Regions from separate parts of the Homo sapiens genome. Here all the other regions are linked to region 1. Evidence: promoter capture Hi-C in human tissues and cell types (Jung and others, 2019). All regions are on one chromosome and are shown on one strand. The core of a region is centred on a gene start or on the middle of the fragment in contact, and the rest is flanking DNA. Distances in the headings are between cores, read along the strand shown.

What was found. Contacts are between HindIII fragments. The study calls those that stand out against the background at their distance.
Region 2: a fragment that was not itself captured here is called in contact with the fragment with the promoter of DNAH10 in region 1 in 1 of the 25 tissues and cell types used here (H1 embryonic stem cells).
Region 3: a contact is called between a fragment that was not itself captured here and the fragment with the promoter of DNAH10 in region 1, in 2 of the 25 tissues and cell types used here (H1 embryonic stem cells and lymphoblastoid cells).

The regions. Positions count from the first base shown.
Region 1 is chr12:123,760,012-123,764,053 of GRCh38, forward strand. It overlaps DNAH10 (dynein axonemal heavy chain 10), which reads left to right and starts at 2,290. Exons shown (of 79, transcript NM_001372106.1): 1 at 2,290-2,539. The coding sequence starts at 2,326. ATP6V0A2 (ATPase H+ transporting V0 subunit a2) reads left to right here. Exons shown (of 20, transcript NM_012463.4): 20 at 1-1,744. RefSeq lists a silencer at 1,871-2,290. The HindIII fragment of the contact is 16,796 bases long and covers 1-4,042 here.
Region 2 is chr12:123,963,584-123,967,625 of GRCh38, forward strand. The region is part of intron 1 of CCDC92 (coiled-coil domain containing 92); the gene reads right to left. Among named protein-coding and RNA genes, the nearest start is that of CCDC92, 7.2 kb to the right of the region's middle. The HindIII fragment of the contact is 5,683 bases long and covers 1-4,042 here.
Region 3 is chr12:123,620,787-123,624,828 of GRCh38, forward strand. EIF2B1 (eukaryotic translation initiation factor 2B subunit alpha) reads right to left here. Exons shown (of 9, transcript NM_001414.4): 7 at 4,001-4,042; 8 at 1,850-1,975; 9 at 1-1,134. The coding sequence ends at 970. It overlaps DDX55 (DEAD-box helicase 55), which reads left to right. Exons shown (of 14, transcript NM_020936.3): 14 at 1-157. Among named protein-coding and RNA genes, the nearest start is that of SNORA9B, 6.1 kb to the left of the region's middle. RefSeq lists an enhancer at 591-1,790. The HindIII fragment of the contact is 7,939 bases long and covers 1-4,042 here.

The DNA.
Region 1 (4,042 bases), core at 1,040-3,539:
CACCTAGAGCTGATGCTTCCACAAGGGGACATTTGTGTTACTTTGCTCCAGGGGTCTGTCATAAAAACAATGGTAACTACTTCATCCCTAGGAAGCCCAAGACTTCAGGGCACTGTTAGCTGATTGGTAAATAAGGGACACGATATTCACGGGAATTGTTTACTGCTCCCCACTAGTAATTCTCATGGGGCCACTTTTTTAACTCTTTCTAATTAACACCTCTTCTCAGCATAGAGCAGAGGATGCAGTCATTTCTCTGTTGAAATCTATGTAGTATTTATGTAGAATGTCATTATATGAAAAGCGAATTCAGAATCCTAACTCTGGGAAAGCGCTCTCTGGAAATGTAGTTTGATAATAGTGTCTTATAGGGGCCACGGGAATTTGTTTCTCTATAAAGCGATGGGCTCCAGTGTCATGTTACCAGAGTTATCGCTCAGTTTTGTTTGTTAAGGCTTTTGCTAGAACCTATTATGTATCCAGTTTTTAAAACATACTTCATTCCCTTGATAGCAGAGATCCAGAGCACAGATGGCAAGTTGTGTGGATGATACTGAATATGTTTATTTTCCTAAAGATAAATGTCACGACACGACATTTCTCAGTTTTTATTTAGATGTTTATTACCATGTGTTAACAGAATCTTAAAACCCAAGGGATTTCTTCAGTAAACTAGACTTTGATTCAACCTGCTGGGCTGGAGACTGTAATTGCCGTGGTCAGTTAAGGAGTGCAAAGGGTGTTCTGTCTGATAGGATCTGGGTGAGCCCTGCGGACTTTCCAGCAGCGAAAGGACTTGGAACTCCTCTTTCGCTGAATGCTGCTCTGTTTCTGGAATGGATATTTTATAACAACATTCTGGTGTCAGCATCCCCTCAGCAGTTGTTTATTTAAAAATTTTTTTATTTTTTTTGAGACAGTGTCTCACTCTGTCACCTAGGCTGAAGTGCAGTGGTGCAGTCTCGGCTCACTGCAACCTCTGCCTCCTGGGTTTAAGCAATTCTCCTGCCCTAGCCTCCCGAGTAGCTGGGATTACAGGCGCCTGCCACAGTGCCCGGCTAATTTTTGTATTTTTAGTAGAGACAGGGTTTCACCATGTTGGCCAGGCTGGTCTCAAACTCCTGACCTCAGGTGATCTACCCACCTTGGCCTCCCAAAGTGCTGGGATTACAGGCGTGAGCCACCGCGCCTGGCCCTCTGCAGTTGTTTAATAAGGCACAGAATACCTGTAGCATAGGTCAGCCTTACGATGTCCATGAATTACATATTCAGACGTTTTAGAGCCTGATACATTTTGGAAAAGAAAAACAACTTCTACACCTATTCTACAGTCCGCATTTAAAACAATAAATTCCTCTATTAAAAACGTAAAGCCGGGTTTGCTTGCGTGCCACAGGGAATATATCCAGGAAGGTTATTATGAAGCTGTCAAATCAAGATGATGGGAATAAGGCAGTTTGAACGAACAGTCTTCCCACAGTCAGGCCATTTTTGCTGATTTGGTTTAGAATTTTCAGAAATACTTAGTACACTCCACCTGTTCTTTGATGGGAATATCTAAGAAGGCTAGGTAGGTTCTTAGGGTTAGCCTGAGTCATCTAGGGGCTCAACTCCTTGTGAGGGGAAATGACAGTGAACAAGTTAGTACTTTGCTCCACAAATGCATGAAAGGACAAATTTGCATCTTCTATCAGTATTTAACTTCCTTTTGCTAATGACAAATAAATATATCTATATTTTTAAACGTGGGTGTTTTGCTTTATTATGCTCTAGTTTGGCAAGAAAGCTAAAGAACTCTGCTCCTTCCCTGATTTTGTAGGCCATGAGGAACTCGTGCTTTCTCGGCTTATTTCCTCCTCGTCTGGCCTCTAATCCCGCCTCTGCCACCGCCGAGGTGCTGTGACCTTCGTCTCGCCAACTCTCTAGCCCCAGCTTCATCTGCAAGGTGGGCGGGCTGCTTGCAAACCGGTCGGCGTGGGGTGGGGTCGCACCCTCGGCTGCAGCGGCCCGAGGGCGGCTCCTGGCGGCGAGGGTCCCGCTCCGCATCCAGGGGCGTGCGCGCTGCCGGGGCCAGGGAGCAACCAGCCTACCTCGGCGGCCCGGGGGCCTGGTGCGCGCCTCCGAGATCCCGGGGCCGGGGCGTGGGCTGCGGCTCGCGGGTTCGGGATCGAGGGGCCGGGCGCGGGGCACTGCCGAGCTTGCAGCCCCCAGCGCCGGCGCCGTCGGCGGGGCGAGCTGCGGCCGTTTCCGGGGCGCCCATTGCTAGGGCCGCCGTTGCCACGGACGCCCGCCCTGCGCCCGGCTCCCTCTGCACTGCGCGGCGCCATGGACGACCTGCGGGTGCTGTGGATGCGCGACCGCGTGTATGCGGCTTTCGGCATCACCGACCCCCAGCTTTTCGAGGACCTGCTCAACCGCGACGACGGCCAGGGCGAGGACCTCATCTTGCACTTCCTCAACCAGGCGAGCGAGGAGGAGGGGCCCTCGGCGCTCTTCATCTACCGCACTATGGTGCCGGAGGAGGTGGAGGTGGAGATTGGTGAGCCTCGACGCGCCGCTCCCTTCCCCGGGCTTCCCTCCTGCCCGTCCCGGCCTCTCCGGCGGGCGCCGGGGCTGCTAGAGCCTGCCCATCGTCCGGCCCCGGCCTCAGGTGCTGTCCACAAACGCTGCCGCCCGCCACGTGCAGGCCCCGGGCGAACCCAGCAATCACAGCCGTCCCTGCCCTCCTGGGCCCACAGCCCACTTGAAAGTCAGGCCTTGATTGAAAAATCACAGCAAACACTGACTTAGCCCGCACCCCGTGCCAGGTGCGGTTCCAACGCTTGTATCAACTCCTTAACCCTACGAGGCGGGTGTATCCTCATCCCTATTTTACAGATGAGCAAACTGGCACGGAGGGGGTTAAGTAACCTGCCCAAGGCCCACGGGGCGTCAAGATCCACTGTGCAATAATCCGAACGGCTGGGTAGAGCCATGCCCAGGTGTGGCAGGGACCCAGGTCACTGTCACTCTCCTTGACGGTCGCAGCCTCTCACGGAGGGTCCGAAGAGCACCCCTTTCTACTTCTGGAGGCTCCTTATATCCTAAAAAGTAAAATAAGGCTAGGACAAAGTTTAAAAACTACAGTAGACTTTAAATGTTTATGTTGAACAAATTAGCATCGCAAATACAAAAAGACAGTGACCAGGGTCCCAGAACCCTCTGTGGAGGCGGATCCCCAGCCCCACCTACTCTCTGATAGGCCAGGGACACTGAGAGGGCAGGGAGGGGCCAGCACAGGTGAGAGGAGGAGGCAGGACAACTCGCTTCAGAAACAGCTAGAAGGAGACTGGGACCTCGAAAGCCGCCTCCTCGCAGGAGCACCAGCTGGAGCACAGCTACCGGGACCTCCTGCCTGGCTGTCCAGTCTCCTGGGCTACTTTTCCAGCCCCTTAAGGACTTGGGGATCCCTTGCAGGGCCTCTCACTGGGTTCGGGTGGCAGGGCCGGCAGACCTTTGATTTTTTTTTTAAAGGTACCAGGCAGATTCATTTATTGTATTCTATTTTTTAACTTTTTTTTTTTTTTTTTTGAGATAGGGTCTCACTTTGTCACCCAGGCTGGAGTGCAGTGGTGCGATCTTGACTCACTGCAACCTCTGCCTCCAGGGCTCAAGTGATTCTCCCACCTCAGCTTCCTGAGTAGCTGGGACTACAGGTATGCGTCACCATGCCTGGCTAATTTTTATATTTTTGGTAGAGACAGGTTTCACCATGTTGCCCAGGGTGGTCTCAAACTACTGAGGTCAAGTGATCCTCCCGCCTCGGCCTCCCAAAGTGCTGGGATTCCAGGTGTTAGCCATCTGGCACCTGGCCACTTCTTTTTTTTTTTTTTGAGACAGAGTCTAGCTCTGTCGCCAAGGCTGGAGTGCAGTGGTGCAATCTCGGCTCACTGCAACCTCCACCTCCCTGGTTCAAGCAATTCTCCTGACTCAGCCTCCCAAGTAGCTGGGATTACAGGCACCCATCACCATGCCTGGCTGATTTTTGTATTTCTAGTAGAGA
Region 2 (4,042 bases), core at 1,136-3,635, 200 kb after region 1:
AGAATGTAGTAATTTTCTTCCTGTTTCTTGATAATGTGAGATTTTGCTTTTCTTCTATGAACGCTAAAGTGACCTGAGAAGTGAAGAGGGTGAGTGCAAGATAAATCTGGAATGCAATAGGGACTCCAGTGTTATGGTTATAAAGCTGCGTATTTCCACAGAAATTAAGTGGACACATTGCAGCTGAGCTAGGTGTGCAGTTTCCACAGGAGTACTCTATCTAATGCAGGCAGGAAATCTCCAGGAAACTTTGATGTTTAAAGGCTTTAATATTTCTTCAATGCAAAGAGCTTTGTTTTTAAGGACTTCACTAAATACGTAAACTTTACAAGAATTTTAGACTCCCAATAAATTTATGAAATCATGTCAAAACTCCTAATATTTTATATATACTAGCACTTTAAGAAAGCTTTCCAGGCGGGAGAAATGAAAGTACAGGTTCCATGGTCACCAGGAAACCCTGTTTACAAGAGCCATAATTTGAACTTTGTAATTTGCAGAAATATACTACAGAAATTGAAGTAATTAGTGCTGCGCTGGTAAATCTTAAAATGGTTTTCTACTTGGAAAAGGTCTCTCCCAAAATAAAAACAATTGCTCAGGTTATAAAAGCAGTTTAAAAATAAAGTTTAAACGTAACAGGTACAAACTGAAAAGTTATTTATCTTTTTTTTAAAAAAAGTGTCTGTATTAACAACAAGGAGGCTATTCCAATATAACACAGAAGACTACATAAATTATTCAAGTTCTTAGTACTTTTAAAGAAAATCCTTTCATATCTATTTTTGTGAATTTGGGGGTATAAGAGAAGGTTATGTCTTCTATATGGGGGGGTGATATAAATTATTACAGTTCATTCTTTCCATAAAGGAAGCATCTTTAAGCAGCTTTGAGCCAGACACTGTGGAGGACACTCAGAACACACCAACAAATAGAAGAGATAAAAATTCTGCCTTTGTGGAGCTAATATTTGGGAGTGGGGGTGGGGCACACAATTCATACAAAAAGTAGAATTTTTTCACAAAGGCTAAATTAAATGGAACTTCCTAAATTCTTGACACTTGCCTTACAGAACAGCTCAATGACTACCTACCACCATGATTTCAGAGTAGGTGAATCTAAACCTGAGTATACAAATTACAGGGAGCTGTAATTTAAGAAACTAGTATCTTTATAAATTGCTTTTTAAAAATTCCAGACAATATTATGACAACCAAGAGTCACTCTACTTCCATTAGCTGAATAATGTTTCAAGATATCACATTTCTGCCAATTTTAAATAACAATTGCATTATTTTTTAATGTAAATTTTGTTTTCTAAAGTTCCTAATTCCCTTTGTACCAGCAGAATAGTGAGGCAATTAGTTAATAATTTATATTTACCTAAAAACTGATAAAGAAATTAAAATTCAAATGGAAAAAACATCTCGTCACCTGACAATCCCCACGGATGAGCTGCTGGGTCTTTTTTTGAATACTGGGTCTTTTTTTTAAATACTTGTTCTTAAAGCTCAAATTATGATGGTAAAATCAATTGACGTATTAGGACACCTGATATGTTTGATAACATTTGAAAACTACAATTTTAAATCGCTAAATATATTGCCAGTTAAATATACTGTTTGGAATGACGTGTGTGCTTGTACGTGTGCATCGAGATATAGTGAGGTCTATCAATAAACACTTGTGTATAACTGAGGAGACAAGACTAACCACTCACAGAAAAGCAAATTGATCTTTGGGATGCAATCTCTTCTCAATAAAGAGGAATCTTGATTCATCTTGACCTCTGTATATTCTGTCCAGAAGTCAAAGTTTATCGCTCTCACTGGAGTATGAAGTCCTGCTTTTCTTTCTCACTTTTTCCTGTCTTGACTATGGACAATTGTGAAAACAGTGAGGGCTGCACGCTCTTGGAGGAGCTTACATTTCTCACGGCCCTCATGTAACCCATGTTGGGCTGTTTTGGAAATATACTTCCTTTGGTGAATAACACGGTCAAGGTTATCTATGGTCAGTCATCTTTCTCAGACTGAACAGTCCCTTATGGTGGCTCTTTCCCACACTGTCCCTGTCCTAGATCAGGCCCCACATCGTAGAAGGGACTCTAAAGACTGTCAGGGTTTCAGAGAGCCTCTTGGTAGCTCCAAAGTGCCTTCATCTTGCTCCAGTGTCCCATGGCCTGGTACACACCAACAAGAAGGGATGCCAGGGAAAATCATATGTGGGTGGCATGCTCCAAATTTACCAGTGTAGCTCATCAGCACTGTGTGAGTTGTTTGACCCGTCCATTCATGTTGTGGGAAGTAGCCATAAAGACAACGAGAGCAGCTTATCTACGGATGGGGCTGTAGGGTGGGAGGCAGGCATTTATAAGCATATTCACATTAGTTTTATTCAAATGAGAAAAAATGGGTTTTCATGTGAATGCTTTAGTAATTTCACTGGGTATAGAAGATGCATGCAAAGGCTAACACAATGACTGTCAAAAAGACTTCTGAAATATTTTATTTCCAGATTTGGTACATTAAGTGTGTCTATTTGTAACAGGAGTCCATCATTTCCAGATTGGATTGTAAATAAAGCTGTAAAGCCCTACACATTCATCAATGCCTTCACTGTCTTGTCCACAATCAGAAGAGGTGGTAAAATGTCCAAATGGAACTCTGAAAAATAACCTAGCCAGGAATTTTCAGAAACTGGACTGAAGTGGCTGGATTCCCTACCTATAAATGTAACCATGAGAGTTGTGACAAACAAAAATCTGGGATCTTCACCTAAAAAACTGAGTAGGCTTCAGAGGCTTCTGGTTACATCCCCAATGGTAGGACATTCCATGTGAGAGGAAGCTGTGTTCTTTTGAGAAATAGCTAAGTCTTGCACACTGATGGAAAGCACTGATGAGGGTGTCAGTGCATCTCATTCCCAGGTTCACTCTGCAGTTCAGCAGTCCAAACATCACTTCAACCTTCCTTCAAGGGACTCTAAAGTTCTGCTTGCTACTAACCTGCCGAGGATTCCCAGTTTCTTCAGTAGGAACATGCTGGCCCCAACGACTTCACACCTTCTAACTAAACTCAGTTTTCCTCTAAACACAGGAATGGCTAATTTGCTGCTTTCCACTTAAATTTCAGACTCAAGATGGTCACTGCACAGGCAGGTCCCGCTGGCATCCTGAGACTACTTGGAAAGGCACTCTGCTCTAACCACAGCCTGCTAATGAGTAACATTCAGTGCAGTGTTCTAGAATTAGCCAGTCGTCATCCAAAGCTCTGAGTTCCATCCTGCAAAAAGGGATGAGACACAAGAACCTCCAAATAGACAGCTGTCAACCTATCTCCAAGGTCTCAAGTCTAGCTTTGTTTCTACTTGGATATTTATTTTGTCTCTCCCCTAAAAACCTGCCTTTGCCCTCAAACAATATGGTTTGGCTTTGTTCACCTCTGAACTGGGTCCTGATACCACAGTCTTACTGTACTAATAAACTTGTCAAAAACTGACTTGACCGCTTTATTGATGGAAAGCAATTCCTCACTTGAAATCACATTGCAGAGGCTGAGGAGGATTACACATCCTTCCTCCCCCGAGAGCAATAGGGCATGTCAATGAGCAAGTACCTTAATGCCAGAAAGCTGCTGCTCTATTCTACTAGAACGTTCTGGTCTTGTCATAGGGACTCAACCAGAAGATAAAGATGACTCAGTATCAGATACTGACCTTCCTTGAAAATGACAGGCCAAACCTAATAACTTCTGCTATGTTCTTATCTATGGGAACACAAAACTGAGCGAAAAACTCCAACCTTTCTCCATCTTTCTTATCAATGTGCAAGATTTGGCTATTTTTAAAAAGTGTATCTGCTCTCCCACGCTACTAGCCACCGAGGCAGAAACACTAGCAGTGCCTTTCATCTGGGTTGATGTGTGTGACAGCCGAAGAGAAAGGAGTTACAAAAAGCCTCCTTCAATGTTTAAGGTATGGCACGAGCCTAACCTCTTACGTTCACTTATCATTAGAAAAATATGGAGAGCCTAAGATAATT
Region 3 (4,042 bases), core at 718-3,217, 140 kb before region 1:
AGGGGTGGCTAATGTGCTGGGGTTTTTCTGTGTTAATAGTCACAGTATTGTTTTATTGGTGAATAGCTGAAAAACAGAGGGATTAAGTCATATTCCGGGAAAGAGAATTATAGTTTTTATGCCTCCTGTTGAATAAATGGTGTCCTGATTGCCTGGGTCTTAAGTGTGTAAATGTAGCTGGACAGTGTTTTCCCCTAGATGGCCTGGTCAGCTTGCAGTATTGATGCAACACCACATCAGCGTCTTTCATAGAGTTTATTTGAAAAGATGCTGAATTTATTCCCAAGTATAATTTTAAAAAGCTGTTTAGGACCCAAACATATTTAAACATCTCTTACACATACAGAATTTCAGTTTACAAATATTCCAGAAGGCATTTTCTTAAGCAGTGAACCATGCAGAATACTGTTGCTAAACATCGTTTCTGCCTTCCTCGTGTTCTCTTGGTAGTTTTTACTGTTTGGCTTGATCCTGCTGAGGAATGTGCTTACCACTGGAAGCCAGATGCAGATTCAGCAAGTGTTTCTTGCCTCTTACAAGGCACCGCGTGTAACGTCCTGACCAGCTGTTGGTCATTTGTGGCAGAGGGGTGTGGCTGCTTTTCGCCTGCATCTCGCGTGCTTTAGGCAGATCAGTCTGGAGTGCAGGGGAGGATGAAGACAGGTGGACTTGGGCTCATCTTTCATCAGTTAAGTAGCCAATTATCTAACTTGTATTTCTGGAAACTGAAAAGGAAAGTTTCTAGAAACCGTAAGAACAATTTAAGTTGGGATTTAGAATAGCTGACACATTTTTAGATGGGACTGAAATGAGTAAGAAAGGTTCTCCAAGATGTATGATTTTAAGTCCTTACTCCATAAATCTTCATTAAACACATCTCAGTTTTGGCCTGACTCACTGGGGTGTCAAGCAGCTACTCACCCTGCCTCAACTACGTAAGCTGCACCTTGGCAGGAAAGGGCTCACAGGTTACAGATAGAGCTTGATGAGCTCATCGCTGACTGCTGAGGGTGTCAGCACGCCCAGGTCTGTAAACAGCAGAGTGATTAAGGAAGGGGCAGTGTAGTCGACCCACGGATGCTCCTCTTTGAGGTCTTGTCCAGTCTGCGCGACCTTGAGAGTGTCTGCCTTATACTGAGGAGAGAAGTACACATTAGTCGGCACTGAATATTTAGTGCTCTGACCTGGTAGGGCCTTGGTGTGAGTGATCAGTGTGCTACTTCCTGAGACTGCTCTCTGAAAATGGGAGAAACTAAGCTATGCAGGACACTAGAGACGAGGGCAGAGTTGTGGCCATGAGCCAGATCATGGCAGTGTGCTGGCTGAGAGCTGTAGTGTAACAAACTTAAATCCCATGTCCCCTCATTCTCATGCCGGATTAACTTCTCCAGACCTCTCAAGGGAAGATCGAGAGTCACAATAGAGAGCTTGCAGCGTGCCAGGGACTGTGCTAAGATTATCTTAGAATCCTCATGACCCTGTCAGATACTGCTATGCCATTTTACAGACAAGAAAACCGGTTCAGAGGTTGAAATGAAAGGACTTGCCTCAACTCGCACAGTTTGTAAGTTGTGGTGATGGGAGCTGAGCTCAGTTAAGCCCAAAGCTGGGACTTACCCACCAGCTTCGGGCTTCCTCTCCACCCATCTATGGTGCTACTTAAAGAGACTGAAAGACTGAAGTTCTAGGGACAAATGTGTGAGTCCAATCACCAATTTATCTTTGTATTCCAAGTGTTGGGGAAAGTAGCAATAGGAAGTGAAAAAATTACTGGAACATTCTTAGGACTACAATTTCCAAAGGTTTCTGTTTAGACTTTAGTACCCCTTCAAATATGTAAAACTCTTGCCTTAAACTTATCTGGGACGTCTTGCTGGTTTAGTGGAAAGAGCCGGACAAACTTGAAACTTTCTGCAACCACATAGAAAGGTTTGTTCTGTGCTTTGGCACACACAGCCATCTGGTTGGTTCCAATCTGGGAAGGCAGAAAATGGAATGGATGAGCTCTAGAGTGCATCTGAAGTAGAAGCCACAGAAAAGCGGGCCGGGCACAGTGGTGCATGCCTGTATTCCAGCATTTTGGGAGGCCGAGGTGGGTGGATCACCTGAACCCATGAGTTTGGGACCAGCCTAGGCAACACGGTGAGACCTCGTCTCAATTACAATAAAGGAACAATTAAAAAACAGCAATAGAAAGTTATGTATATAATATAGATATACATATATCTAATACATATATTAGATATATCTAATTCTGACTTTGGAATCAAAAAAATAAATGTTTCTCAAAGGATATAGAAACAGCCACTAGAGGCTGGATGTGGTGGCTCACGCCTGTAATCCCAGCACTTTGGGAGGCCGAGGTGGGTGGATCACCTGAGGTCAGGAGTTTGAGACCAGCTGGCCAATATAGGGAAACCCCATCTCTACTAAAAATACAAAAAATTAGCTGGGCATGGTGGGATGGGGGGTGCCTGTAATCCCAGCTACTAGGGAGGCTGAAGCAGGAGACTCGCTTGAACCCGGGCACTGGAGGTTGCAGTGAGCCAAGACTGTGCCATTGCACTCCAGCCTGGACAGCAAGAGTGAAACTCCATCTCAAAAAATAAAAAAATTTAAAAAAACAAGTGTTGGCAAGGATGTAGAGAAATTGGAACCTTTGTGCTTTGCTAGTGGGAATGTAAAGTAGTGCAGCTGCTGTGGAAAATCATTAGTTTCTGAAAGTTAAATATATAGTTACCATGTGACTCAACACTCTGCCTGCAGACCTCCGCCTCCCAGGTTCAAGCGATTCTCCTGCGTCAGCCTGCCAAGTAGCTGGGATTACAGGCACCCGCCACCATGCCCAGCTAATTTTTTGTATTTTTAGTAGATATGGGGTTTCACCATGTTGGCCAGGCTGGTCTCGAACTCCTGACCTCAGATGATCTACCTGCCTCAGCCTCCCAAAGTGCTGGGATTATAGGCGTGAGCTACTACGCCCGGCCTTATGTTACATATATTTTAACTAAAAAAAGCTTTCATGAAGCTTTTCTAAATTAAATAATGGAGAGAGAGATTGTAATAAATTGAGGTCAAATGTGCTCAATTAAAATGAAAACAAATGACAGGCCGGCCACAGTGGCTCATGCCTGTAATCCTAGCACTTTGGGAAGTGGAAAGATTGCTTCAGGCTAGGAGTTCAAGACTGCAGTAAGCTATGATCACTGTACTACACTACAGCCTGGGCAACAGAGTGAATGTGTCTCTATTTTAAAATATATATAATATTTATATATAAATACACGTATTTTATACATACATACTTTATATGTAAATATATAAATAATATTTTAAAAATATTTGTGTATATATATTATGTGTGTGTATATATATGCATAAATAAAACATACATATACACATAAATAAAGCAAAAACCAGACAAACCCCAATTCCAATTCAAGCCAATTTTGTATAAATATAAATTACACTTTTTTTTTTTTTTTTTTTACTGAGACAGGGTCTCACCATCGCCCAGGCTGGAATGCAGTAGTGTGATCATAACTTACTGCAACCTCAAATTCCTGGGCTCACGTGATACTCCTGCCTCAGCTTCCTGGGCAGCTGGAACTACAGGCAAGCACCACCACGCCCAGCTAATTTTTCTAATTTTTTGTAGAGACAGGGTTTCACTATGTTGCCCAGGCTGGTCTTGAACTCAAGGCCTCAAGTGATCCTCCCACCCTGGCCTCTCAAATTGCTAGGATTACAGGTATAAGGCATCACACCTGACCAAATTACATTGTCTTCATTTATGTAGATCAATCTAAAAAAGATTTGACTGAAACTGGACTGCCCATTGCTATGACTTACGGGAAATGGGCAACAACTCAATACCATGATGAAGTCCTGAAGTGAAGCAGGATTAGAAGGAACCATAATCAACACTGCTGTGGTGTCCTAGGTCAGCAAGACACCTCCAAGTCTTGAGCAGGGAACTGGGGAGAACTGATGCTCTTACCTTGTTAATAATTCCTCCGTTTTCAACAACTCCTTCAGCACC